3 separate regions of the Homo sapiens genome follow, and regions 2 and 3 are each linked to region 1. Evidence: promoter capture Hi-C in human tissues and cell types (Jung and others, 2019). All regions are on one chromosome and are shown on one strand. Each heading gives the region's core, a stretch centred on a gene start or on the middle of the fragment in contact. The rest is flanking DNA. Distances are from core to core; before and after follow the strand shown.

Region 1 (4,205 bases), core at 652-3,151:
CGCCGCCGCTTGTCCTTGTTAATGAATTTGTTAATGGCATACTCGTTCTCCAGTTCTTTAAGCTGCAGTTTGGTGTAAGGCACTCTCTTCTTCCTCCCTCTTCGGTAGACGCACATGTCCGGCTGATTTAGAGCCACATCCCCTGATACAAACAAAAGCACAAGAAAAATTAGGCTGGGATATTCGGAGCACCTAGCTGAGGATTGTGTGTGTGTGTGTGTGTGTGTGTGTGTGTGCGTTTGCAGGGGTGCAGGAAATTTTTAAAAAATGCCATGCTGTTTGGTCTTTATTATGTACATAGACATAACACTTACCTGTTATTAAAGAAGGATTATTTGCACTTAACAACAATGGTTAATTTGATTGATTATCATAGTTTCTCAAACCGGCATCTTAACAAGCTTGCAATTTTATGGTGTGGTTATTGGGCACGTTCATGAGGACAGTTTCTGCAAATGTCGGTTGTATAAAAACAAACTTACATACATAGACACATACCAACTCAGGTCTTTTGCTCAAATTTTGATTTCCCGCGTTCCTATGTTAGGAGTTCGTGAGCTTGATCTAACAAGCTTTAGTAGTCATCTTGGGGCAGTGATGTCTTTGAAAATGGGGGGACCCAACTCTGTCAGGTTTCTTAGGAAAAAGTTCTCTTTAGGAGAAAAGGGAGAGGCCCAAGGAAAGGGCACGCAGAGACTCTCAACTTTAGGAGAAAAACGTGTCTGCGCTGCACACAGGAAAGAAAGGGCAGTGACGGAGGCAGTTGAAATCAGAGGAGGAATTTACAGATTTCACACGAACTGGACAAATTTCCACTGGGTTAACCCTGGTCACGTGTGGAGCACAGGCACAACTCCCACTCCCAAGTAGGGGCGCATACTCTTAGTCCTTTCTTTTCTCCTTCTCTCTCCCCCTCCCTCGTGTCGGTCCCTTTTCTCCATCGCCCCTACCTGGAAAGGAAGATTTCCAAAAGTGGGACCCCTGTGGCTGGTCCTTGGTGCAGTACACCTGGCTGTTCCACCCGTTAGCCAGCGTCCAGGACTGGTACCCCTCCATGGAGATGTAGGCCTCGTGCCGAGGCTCCCCGGAGCCGAAAGTGGACACCATGTCGATATAGCCGGGCACGTGCTGGTAAGGGCTCGTATAGCCCTGGTAGAAGGATACCTCCTTGGCTCGCGCTGGCACCTCGTTGGCCGGTACGCTGCTGCTCGCCAGGCCTGACACGTCCATGTACTTCTCCACGGGAAAGCCTCCCAGCGAGGCGTGCGGCGATGACTTGAGCGCATTCTGCTGTAAGCCCACGCCGTGCGACATACGGCAGCTGTAGTAGCCGTTGCCGAAGTGGTAGCCGTAGCCCAGCGCTGGAGCGCTCGGGGGCGCTGCAGCGGCCGCTGCAGGCGTGGGTGCTGGGCACTCTTTGGCTGGGGGAGCCTCCGGGCGCGCCGCTACAACGGCAGAAGAGGACGACGACGAGGAAGAGCCCGTGCGCTCAGAGGTCCCGGGGTACGCAAAGCCGGAGGCTGCCGCCGCCGCCGCCGCAGCCGCCGCTGCCGCCGCCGCCGCCCGCCCCGAATGCGTCCCGGCGAACACAGGCGCGGAGAGAAAGCCGCGGCACTGGCCTGACGCCGCCGCCGCCGCCACCGATGAGGAGGAGGAAGAGGCCGGGGCGCCACCGGCGCCCCCGCCGTCTGCCCGCAGCCCGTCCATGTCCCAGCTCCCGGCGCGGCTCATGGCCCGGCCTGGCCCGGCCCCGGCCCTGGCCCTGGCCCCGCGCAGGACACCATGGCGCGGCGCGCCTCCTCCCTCCTCTCCTTTCTCTCTGGTTCGCTCGCTCCCGCCCTCTTCCTCTAGCCCTCTCTCCCTCTGTGAGCCTCCCGCCTCCGGCCCGCCTGCCCTCCAACAGGTTAGCTCATCGCGGGACGTTTATAAAAACGAAGTTCAGGTTGGGAGGGGGCCTGGGCCGGTCGGGGGGCCGCCTCCCGCCCCGAGGGCCCCCGCCGGGGGCGTGCCATTGGCTGCGCGCGGCCACGTGGGGGTAGGAACGCGGGGGAGCCTGGCTCCCGGCCCAGGCCTGGCTGGACCCACCCACTCCGGCCCCCACCCCTCTCCTGCCCCTTGCAGGGTCCACCTCCCATTCCCGCCCTCCCCCCCGACCCAGGCGTACGCGCTGCAGCCACCCCCACGAGTTGATTGCGCGACGGCCCATCCCAGGCCCTGTCTGCGACTGAGGCGGGCGCCAAGGCCTGCGCCTTGTCTCGGCAACCGCTGTTTTTGCCACCTCTCCTCGGCTCCCCGAGTTGCACAGCAAAATGAAGACGAAGGACAGAGATGATCAGAATGATGTGAAAACAGGCCCATTTTTTTATCCTGTTGCTGAATCCCTCAGTTAGTCGACTTCTAGACCCCAAATCCGAGTGAGCTAATTTGCCCTACCTTGTGCACTGGTACCCGGCAAAGGCATTTCACACAGGTAAGAGGCATTGGAGCAGACCCTTCCTATACACACACGCTGTCCGTTCGGAAAATGCCCATGAAGCGCCCTTGGGGCTGGCGGCAGAGACTTAAACAGATGAAAGACAGGCATCGGCGCAGTGAGCCTGACAATCTGTCCCAGAAAGAAAAGTCCATGGATGCCTACTCAACGCTCTTCGCCTCTACTCTTGGGCCAGCCGGGAGTGCTTCCGACCTGGGCCTCTCAGCTCCCGCGGGTCCTTCTTCGACCCGCAGAAAGACCCTGAGAACGGCGCCGGGGGAGAAAGCCACTCAGCCTCCCACCGTGAAACTTCTGTGTCTCTCCAGCAGCCGACCGGCCTCGCATTTTGCAGTCACCACCCACTCCCGCCCGTTTCTCACACCAAATTAATTGAAAACTTCACTTTCCCAGGGACCTTTGTTTCGCTTCCTTTTCCAAGCTGTCAACTGCAGAGAACTGAGAGGGGCAAATTAAGAGGGCGCTTGTTCCAAGCAAATTCGGATTTTGTGATAGGAGCAGCCCAGAGAAACGGTCTGACTTCAAGGGGTTAGGTGGGCTCAGGGCAGTGCTGGTGGGGCTAGGTCCAGCTCTGGAACCAAGCTGCCAGGGTGTTAGGGATTACAGCCCTGTCCCTCATCATCCCTTTCTGTTGCTCCTCAGCCTCAGAGCTCCAGCCCACCATCCCTCAATCTCAGCAACTAATGGGGCACCAATGAGAGTCCTGCTGTGACTTTGGGGCTCTGCCTTAGGAACAATATTAGATCCAATGAGCCCAGGGTTCTGGGGGTGGATATGGGATCCTTCAGAGCCCATTTGGTTCTGTGGCATGCACTCCCCAAGCCAGCCCATCTCCAAGAAAATCACTCCCCTAAGCCTGTGATTGGTGAAAGCTTGTCACCCAGCACCACTGTTCCCCGACCAAAGATGCCCTGAGTAAGATGAGGAAGAGAGCCAGGAAGGCCCTCCTTGGCCTGGCCTGGCATTTCAGGGTAGGCTGCTGGTGTTAGGAGTGTTGACATGCAAAACGCAGTAACCATAAAAGGCTCAAATAAAGGGGAAAGTTATGAGAGGGGTGTTGGAAAGGAAAAGCAAGAGAATTCGTTTCATCGTTTTGAAGTTCTAGACATGTTCATGATCAAATTTGAGATGGGAGGGGCCTGAATTTACAGGAAATCATAGGGAATAGAAGTTTGCTGATGAGAAAATTTTTTTCACTATTTGGGAAAAGAAGGCAAAAGTCAGCAATGAAAGTTCAACCAGCATTTTAAAAAGGCCAACTGTGGCGAGGCGACAGGATTGCTAACTTTTAAAGAGGGTTTGGCTGGGTCTTTATGAAACAATTTTGGTACCAAACCACCAACCATGGGCCACCATGAAATGCTTTTATTTTCCCTTTGTCTCATTTTTTCTTCCTCAGACAGAGAAAACATGAAGATAGTTTTAACTTTTTATGACTCCAAAAAACAAATTCGTTGAAATATTTCTAAGATATAAGTAGAACCAACAAACTTTCAGTCTCTTAAAATTAAATATCCCTGTGGTTTTGTGCCTTGGGCTTCTGCTTCATTTTCTCACTGATAAGTACATTTTAATGATCAATTATGTGTTTAACAATAAAGTAAAATGAAAATGGGAAGAATGTGTCAAGTTTTGTTGATTTCAAGCAGCCCATCACTTCTGGCTGAATTTTCCATTCAGCAAATTAAGTTGTGCAGGAGTGGGAGAAAAATCT
Region 2 (4,205 bases), core at 484-2,983, 620 kb after region 1:
GCCTCCTGTCTGGTGGACCACCTCCAATCTGTTCCCAGGCTTGGATACTCTTAGTGGATTCTCTTGACCTTTAGAACAAAGTCTAAATTCATTACCAAGTTTCTCAAGGTCCTTCATGATCTGGCCCCAATATTATCCTCTCAAACAGCAAACTTTATCAGTTCTCACCTCAAGCTCCACTCTCAATCACATTCAACTTCTTTCAGTTGCCTGAATATGCCATGCTTTCTTTTGCCCCTGGGATTGTGCTGATGCTGGTCTGTACCTAGAGCACCCTCAAACACACTTTTCTCCCCCTCTTTAATGATCTGGCTAATTCTTCCTGGATCTCCAAATCTGAACTTATGTATCTCTTCCTCCAGGAAGCTGCCTCTGAGCTCTGAGCACCTATTGGGTGATCCCCTACAAGATCGTCATAGTGTATAGGTGATCCCCTATAGCTCATCATACTGTCTCACATTCTGCCTTGTAATTAATTACCTGTTCACTTTTCTGTATCCCTCCCTTGAAAAAACATCTGTGAAGGCAGAAACTGAGATGGTCAGGTTCTCATGGTATCCCAGCACCTAGCTGTATGCAGTAGAGAATTGATATGTATCAAACGTCTGGATGATTATGAGAATGACATTGTACTTAGAGAATTTTATTTTAATGACAATATGGCAAAAATTCTATGGCAATTCCTTCTGAAAGCGCACTATTTAGGATGGCATCATGGCAGTTTGTTAGGGGATATGCAGAACCATAGGTGCAGTATGGCTTTCTAAACCATCCATGTTACTTGGTAAGTGATAAGGTTTGGCTCTGTGTCCCCACCCATATCTCATTTTGGATTGTAATCCCCATAATCCCTATGTGTGGAAGGAGGAACCAGGTGGGAGGTGATTGGATCATGGAGGTGGTTTCCCCCATGCTGTTTTGTGATAGTGAATGAGTTCTCATGAGATCTGATGGTTTTATAAGGCAGTTTTCCCTGCTCTTGCTTGATCTCTCTCGCCTGCTGCCATGTAAGATGTGCCTCTTCCCCTTCCACTATGATCATAAGTTTCCTGAGGCCTCCCCAGCCATGTGGAAGTGAACTGTGAGTCAATTAAGCTTCTTTCCTTTATAAATTGCCTAGTCTCAGGTATGTCTTTATAGCAGTTTGAGAACAGACTAATACACTAGGTAATTTTAAATATTAATTTTAAATTAAAAATACAGATACATAGACTAATGTGGTAAAATATAAGACTTCCAAGAAATTTTCCATTTTGAATTAGATCCACAGATATAGAGTGACAATCACTGTTCATGATGGTCAAACCTTAGTTACAAGGTCACAATCATTTGGGAGCAGGCTTTAAGATGAGCAATGTCAAATTTATAAGCCTCAAAAGGAAACTGTGTGCTTTAAGGAATATTTGAAGGTCAATTCTGCTTAATTTAGAGAAGACTGAAGAGAAATGTACAATCTGCGTTTACCTGTTCGGAGGCTGTTACCTAGAAGAGGGAGCACAGATGCATTATTAGAAATCCATCTTTAGAACAGAGAACCAGGACCATTGAGAAGAGGAGCCCAGATTCGGTTCAACATGAGAAAGGACCTATGAGTTGTCTCTGCATGGTAGGAATAGGGTAAATTTTTGTTTTCTTCTTGGTCCTCTTCTACATGACCTCAGTGTTCCATCAGATGAAATATTCAAAATGAATCCTTATAACAATTCATCAAGAGTACTACAAAAAGAATTCCTGGCTGGAATTATTTTTGGTGCAACGGCTCACACCTATAATCCCAACACTTTGGGAGGCCAAGGCAGGAGGATTGCTTGAGCCCAGGAGTTCAAGACCAACCTGGGCAACATAGTGAGGCCGAACTTCTAAAAAAAAAAAAAAAAGCCAGATACGGTAGTACTCACCTGTGGTCCCAGCTGGTCCAGAGGCTGAGGTAGGAGGATCAGTTGATCCCAAAAGGAGCGAGTCATGATCATGCCACTGCACTCCAGCCTGGACAACAGAGTAAGACCATCTCAAAAGAAAAACTCCTAATTTGTACAGAACACTACAATTTGTCTTTTCTTCTAGTGTTAAGATTATACAAATTTCCCATGAAAAAACTGAATCTAGAGAGTTTGTTTGTATTTGTTTAGGTTTACCACAGGTACAATCTGTGCAAAGCTTTTTTCTTTTTTTTCAAAATGGGATTACGTAAGTTGTTTTAGATTTGCAATAATCCATAGTTGGTGCAAAATAATTAATGCATTCCCATGGAAAGTGAAATTTTCCCAGACCCTATTCCATACAAAGATTTTAAAAGCACTGTACAAATATATTAATGGGATCACCCTATAATATCATTCTGTAACTTTTTCCCTTGACACTACATTATGGACATCTTTACTTGACAATACAATAGATGGTATTTATCCTTTTAAACAGTTGTATGATATTCACTGTCTGGATGCGGCACAACAAAAAATGTCATCTGTTCCCTATTGATGAACACTTGCTTTGCAGTATTGTTTGCAATTGCAAATATTTAATGATAAGCTTGTTTTATGAAAAGATTTTCCATGAAACAGACTAGGCCTCCATTCTGAGAACTGGTACCTCAGAGCACGCCTTAACAGTGTGCTGGGGAATGCTCAAAGCTATAGGCACAGTGTATCATCCTGGACCATCCATTTTACTCAATGATAAATAATTTAAAATATTAACGGTTTTAAAAAATAAAATACAATTCAGATCTATTATATGGAAAAACACAAAGTGTATACAGAACTTTCTATTTCTTTATGGCAAAATAAAGGACTTCAATAGCATTTTCCATTTTGAGTTAGGGACCCAGGCCCCCAAAGGTAAGTTGACTTTCTTCTGCCATTAGGGATATTCCAGTGGAAAATTCTGAAAAGGACTTATTTAGGATCTTGGAACAGTTTGAATGCCCGAGAGGATTCCAGACAAACTAGGGACTAATTATAATGGCTGAACTAGGTTCTTAAAATAGAAGTCAGCCAAGAGCTCTCAAGATGGGTTCCTCAAAGTTAATATGAGTACACAAAAAAGAGAGGAGGAGGAGGGCAGAGTGTGTCTCTATCAGCCGTGTACCTGGATCAAGTCCAGGTGCGAAAATTGGTTTGTGTGACGACTCGGAATAATTTTCTATGCTCACAATCTGGGAAATATAAGGTTATCTTTACTTTGGGCTTTTGTGGTTCTTTGTAAAGGAAGTCTCATTTTTGTGAGGCGAATAGACTCTTCAAATAGCGAATTCTTAACTAGAAAGTCAAAGTTCAATCACAGCCTACTTGTTTATCTTGTTTTACTTGAAAAAAAATTAAGTGCCATAATGAAAGAACACTTGAAAAGACAGTCAAGCTATTGTTGATAATTCTAGCCAGTGAGAGGATTTCTCCAAGCCTTATTTCTCTCACCTGATTTCATCTGGTGCTTTTAGACCAACGGCATAATGTTGTAGGGCTTCCCATCTTCTTAAGCACCTTAAATTCTGTGCATACCAAAAACAGTTGTTACTCTGAATAGATGTTTTTGTTCTCCACAAGAGGCCTGCAGAGCAGAGGTGAATTATGTTTAAAAAGGAATCATTTTGCCTGTCAGAACACTTTACATAAAACAACCCTTGAATTCTGAAGGATTTTTAAACTGAGCTCCAAAATCCTACAATGTGCATCTAAAATATCCTGCTAGCTAAAAGCAAAAGAACTGGTCTACCGACCTTCAGCTCTTGCCGCTTGGAAATATTCTTTAGTGCTTAACAGTATTTGACTTACCTGCATTTATTTTCTACTGTGTTCATTTTTAAGTCATCACTTTAGTCCAGGTAAATGGATTCAATAGAGATGAACACACCATCATATTTTGTGAATCTGCATAGCTGAACGCAATAATAGTATAATTATGCTGTCTAATATTTGCTCGAAACGTGTGTCATTCATTATCATATGCTAATTGTGCATAATTAATGTTAACTATTCATGGGCACAAGATCAATTATGTGTTGTAAAGTAAAACTTAAATGCAAAAAAAGAAAAAAGCTCCTCGTATAAACAAAACATAATAACAGACCCTTTATTCTCTAAGGCATGTTAAAAAGATTATAAATGAATTGACCATTTTGATATTAGAACGTATACAGTAAATAACATGTGTAAAAATGCAGTCATTTTAGGTCTCCTGGGGAAAACAGCAGTAACTCTTCCTCATGT
Region 3 (4,205 bases), core at 1,151-3,650, 520 kb after region 1:
CCTTATAATTACCCCAAAGTTGTTTGTTTTTTTAACTTACTGGACCATAAAATCCCCAGACTTGGGACTCACAGAGCTAGATGATATCAAGTGCCTCTTAGCCATAAAATCTGTGGCCCCTTGGAGATCATTGATAATATTTTTTGCTCTTAGGTTGCTTGTTGAAATGAGAACTTTATCCAAGACAACCTACAAAAGGAGTTGTAATTCAGGGAGGTGTAGTCTGAGAAAGGGAAGTTCAGGAGCTTGTGTGTCAGTAAAAGGGCACTGACCTTGATAAGCAGAGAGAGATCTGGAGATCTTGAAACAAGACCTGTCCGTCACGCTTGAACTCCCATTTGGAGGTGGAGATAGCTTCAGATCATCTAGTCCAATGGTTCTCAAGTCTGGGGATTTTTTGGTCCAATACATGAAAAATAAACAAAACAAAACAAAACAAAAAAACCTTGAGCAGTCATAGGATTCCTCACTTAAATTTTTTTTTTCTTTTGTCAAGACGCAGTTGTCCTCTACTATGGCTATGATTTCTTAAAAGAAAGGACATTATAACACCAAAAAGTGAGGAATAACATAATCTCAGAATAAAAGACAATTCTTTGAATGCACTCAGGTTAGTGATAGGAAAACCCACAGCTAATAGAAGGAACTCCATCGGGTGTAGACACAGTATGGTGTCCAGATAATAGGTGGCGGGTGACCCTGGAGGGCCCAGGCAAGCAGCCTGCATTACAGCAGTCCAGCCAGAGAGAGAAAACTCTGCTGCTGAATCAGTGGGGGTGGAGGCGAGGGGAACAGCAGGCACCCAGGGAAAGCAGCTGTGGCTAAGCCCGCAGGCAGGCCTAGGGCCTGCCAAGAAAGATTTGGCAGCTGGACATTATCTCAATAAGGACGGGGGTTCAAGAACACCCTGTTGGTCCTGGAGAGGGGGAGACTGATGGCTGGTAAGAATAATAAGAAAGGGCCCATTCCAAAAGAACTGGGAACAAAATCCTGGTTAGCAGGCTGATAAATCAGGCACAGAGGTATGAGACTAAGAAGCAGTTACTCAAACTGGGAAACAAGATGAGGTTCCAGAGCAGAACTGGAATGCAAGATCAGAGTGAAGCTGAGCTTCTGAACTCGGCCTGCTCCTGGAGATTAAAACTTTGGTCCACATATTTGAGTCATCACTGTCCATGTTCAGCCACTGGATTCTCCTATAATTGTCATGGAGTTGGTCCTAGGCTTCAGTGGTTTTTTTAAAGCTCTACCAGATCACTTTGGGAGGTGGATCACTTGAGCCCAGGAGTTCAAGACAAGCCTGGGCAACAGGTGAAACCCTGTCTCTACAAAAAATACAAAAATTAACTGCCCCTGGTGGTGTGTACCTGTAGTCCCAGCTACCCCAGAGCCTGGGGTGGGAGGCCTGCTTGAGCCTGGGAGGTAGAAGCTGCAGTGAGCCAAGATCGAGCCACTGCACTACAGCCTGGGTGACAGAGCAAGCAAGACCCTGTTTCAAAAAAAATAGAGGCTCCATCAGGTGATGCTAATGCACAGCCAGGGTTGGGAGCCCCTGGGCTACTCAAAGCCTCTGTTGGGCGTGGGGTAGGGGATAAAATCTGTAGCAGAGCCAAGGTCTGGTTGGGTCTACAGGTGAAAACCGGAAGCTCCAACTGTGGGGAAAGTAAACATGAAAGAGAAGAGAGCAGGGAGGAGGGTGCCAAGCAGATATGCAGGAGTTGCCCCGTGGCTGTCTGAACAGGAGCTCAGGGAAAAGCTAACTTGCTGAAAAATTCAGAGAGGTCTTTGCTATTCACCGGTATAAGCTAACACCCCCGTTGGGGAGCACTGGCTTAGCAAATATAGCTTTGTGTGTGTTAATTGCTTCAGTAGATGTAAGAAGCATGACAGGTATTCACTCAAGCAGAAAGAGCAGAATTTCTCAGATATCTTCCACTCATTTTATTCAAAATTGAAAGAATAGTCTGCCGTCAGCTGGGGCACTTTGCTCTGCACAGGAAACCAAAACCTTCATCACCCGCCTGATGGTCTCAAGCTGGAAACCTCAAGAAAGAAGCATGACACGGGCTGCTCTGCATATGGTCATTTCCACTATTAGAAACCCCAGTGTTAAATTTCGCTTTGAAACCATAGCAATAAAAAGGCCTGATTGACTTCTTTTTTTTTTTTTTTGCTTTGATAGTTTTCTAAGCAAAGAAAAAACACCCAAAGACCATTAGAAGAGCTTGAGACACTTTTGGTGGGAGACATATGATAGTGAATAAAAAAAAAACAACAACAGTGACTAGATTTGCCAGTGCTTACTGCCTTAGTCTGCTCAGGCTGCGATAACTAAATACCACGGACGGGGTGGCTTAAACAACAGAAACTTAGTTCTCACAATTCTGGAGATCAAAGTGCCAGCTGATTTGGTTTCTGGTGAGGGCTCTTTTCTTGGCTTATAGATGACAGCCTTCTCCCTGTGTCTTCACATGGAGAGGGAGGGAGGGAAGGAGAGAGAGAGAGACGTGTATGTGAGAGAGAGAGATGGAAGGAGGGAGAGAGAAAAAAGAGAGGGAGGGAGGTGAGGAGAGAGAGAAAAAAAATGGTCTCTTCTAAGGATACTAATCCCATGAGATCTAGGTGGCACCCTTATAACCTCACTTAACCTTTCTTATTTCCTAATAGGCCATATCTCCAAATTCAGTCAACATTGGGAGTTAGGGCATCAACATCAGAATTTTGGTGAGACATAATTCAGTCCGTAGCTCTTACTATGTGCCTGCATTGTTTTAAGAACTTTGTAGATGTTAGATAGTTTAATCCTCACAATCCTATGAGGAAGGTACTCTAATTATCCCCATTTTACAAAAGGGGAAACAGGCTTAAGAGGTTAACAACCTGCCCAATGTCACATAGCTGCAATTAATCTCTTTGAAGTATCAAACATACCAAGAAATGACCAGACTGGAAACGCTGCTGATACTTCCTCTGATCCTTACAGAATAAGTCCTCTTGGCTATGTCAAGTTACCTGAGGACTTGGAACAGCTAATAAGCTCTGACACCCATGATTAGGAGAGCTATATTAGAAATATTCAGTATTTATACCCTGTCTCTTCACAATGAACTGAAAGCTCAATTCAAATGCACAGTCTCATATTTGTTTATAATACTATATGACTACTATTAGAAAGTTGGATCCAGGAGCTTGGAAAGTGTCAGAGACTCTTAGAGAAGAGGTGGTGTTGAAATCTCGAGTCTTGAAGGATAAATGCCAGTTGACAAGAAAGCCCTGCAGGAAGGCCTTCCAGGCATGTGCAGGGAGGACATAGTGACATTAGAAGCCATCGTCCACAAGGAGTATTGCAAGGGGTTCCAAGTAGCTGGGCTAAAGGGGGCAGGTTGGGGAACCGCAGCAAGACAGAACCTAAAGTCTTATTTGGGAAAGGGGCCAAAGCCCAAGTCATGCAGAGCTTTCTTTGCCTCTCTGAGAAATGCTGCCTGCAGGACTTTAAGCTCAGGAACAACATGACAAGATTTGTGTCTCTGAAGGATAGTAGGAAGGCCAGAGATTTGAACCAGCAGGTTGAAGACTGGGGACTACTGTTGTAGATCTGAACAGAAATGCTGGGAACCTGAACTCAAGCACCAAGTACGGAGATGGGGAAGTCAGAGTGGAGTCTTGATATTTATAACCAAAATTTAAGAGGTAAATCCAGTGGTACAGTGGAAATTTGCTGTGCATTATCCGGTTATATGTAAATACAACCTCTTGAAAAACATTAAGCAGTTCTTTTCCCTACTAGCTTATGATAGATACTCTTTAGATATTTTTCATTATCAAAAATTATACAATTAGGGCCGGTCACGGTGGCTCACTCCTGTAATCCCAGCATTTTGGGAGGCCAAGGCGGGCGGATCACCTGAGGTCAGGAGTTCCAGACCAGTCTGGCAAACATGGTGAAACCCCGTCTCTACTAAAAATACAAAACATTAGCCTGGCAGAGTGGTGGGCGCCTGTAATCCCAGCTACTCTGGAGGCTGAGGCAGGAGAATCGCTTGAATCTGGAAGGTGGAGGTTGCAGTGAGCCAAGATCGTGTCATTGCACCCCTGCCTGGGCAACAGAGTGAGACTCTGTCTCAAAATAAATAAATAAATAAATGAATGAGTACAATTAGATTGTTGTTCCCATGTAGAGCTCTCCAGTTGCCAACGTGAACTGA

The links. Contacts are between HindIII fragments. The study calls those that stand out against the background at their distance.
Region 2: a contact is called between a fragment that was not itself captured here and the fragment with the promoter of HOXD13 in region 1, in 1 of the 25 tissues and cell types used here (bladder).
Region 3: a fragment that was not itself captured here is called in contact with the fragment with the promoter of HOXD13 in region 1 in 1 of the 25 tissues and cell types used here (aorta).

Annotation. Positions count from the first base shown.
Region 1 is chr2:176,090,417-176,094,621 of GRCh38, reverse strand. HOXD13 (homeobox D13) reads right to left here and starts at 1,901. Exons shown (of 2, transcript NM_000523.4): 1 at 951-1,901; 2 at 1-142. The coding sequence starts at 1,731. The HindIII fragment of the contact is 2,672 bases long and covers 1-1,968 here.
Region 2 is chr2:175,469,002-175,473,206 of GRCh38, reverse strand. LOC105373752 (a long non-coding RNA gene) reads right to left here. Exons shown (of 3, transcript XR_923596.2): 2 at 3,414-3,546; 3 at 1,899-1,986. Among named protein-coding and RNA genes, the nearest start is that of ATP5MC3, 290 kb to the right of the region's middle. The HindIII fragment of the contact is 4,319 bases long and covers 1-3,892 here.
Region 3 is chr2:175,573,653-175,577,857 of GRCh38, reverse strand. No RefSeq gene overlaps it. Among named protein-coding and RNA genes, the nearest start is that of ATP5MC3, 390 kb to the right of the region's middle. The HindIII fragment of the contact is 6,681 bases long and covers 1-4,205 here.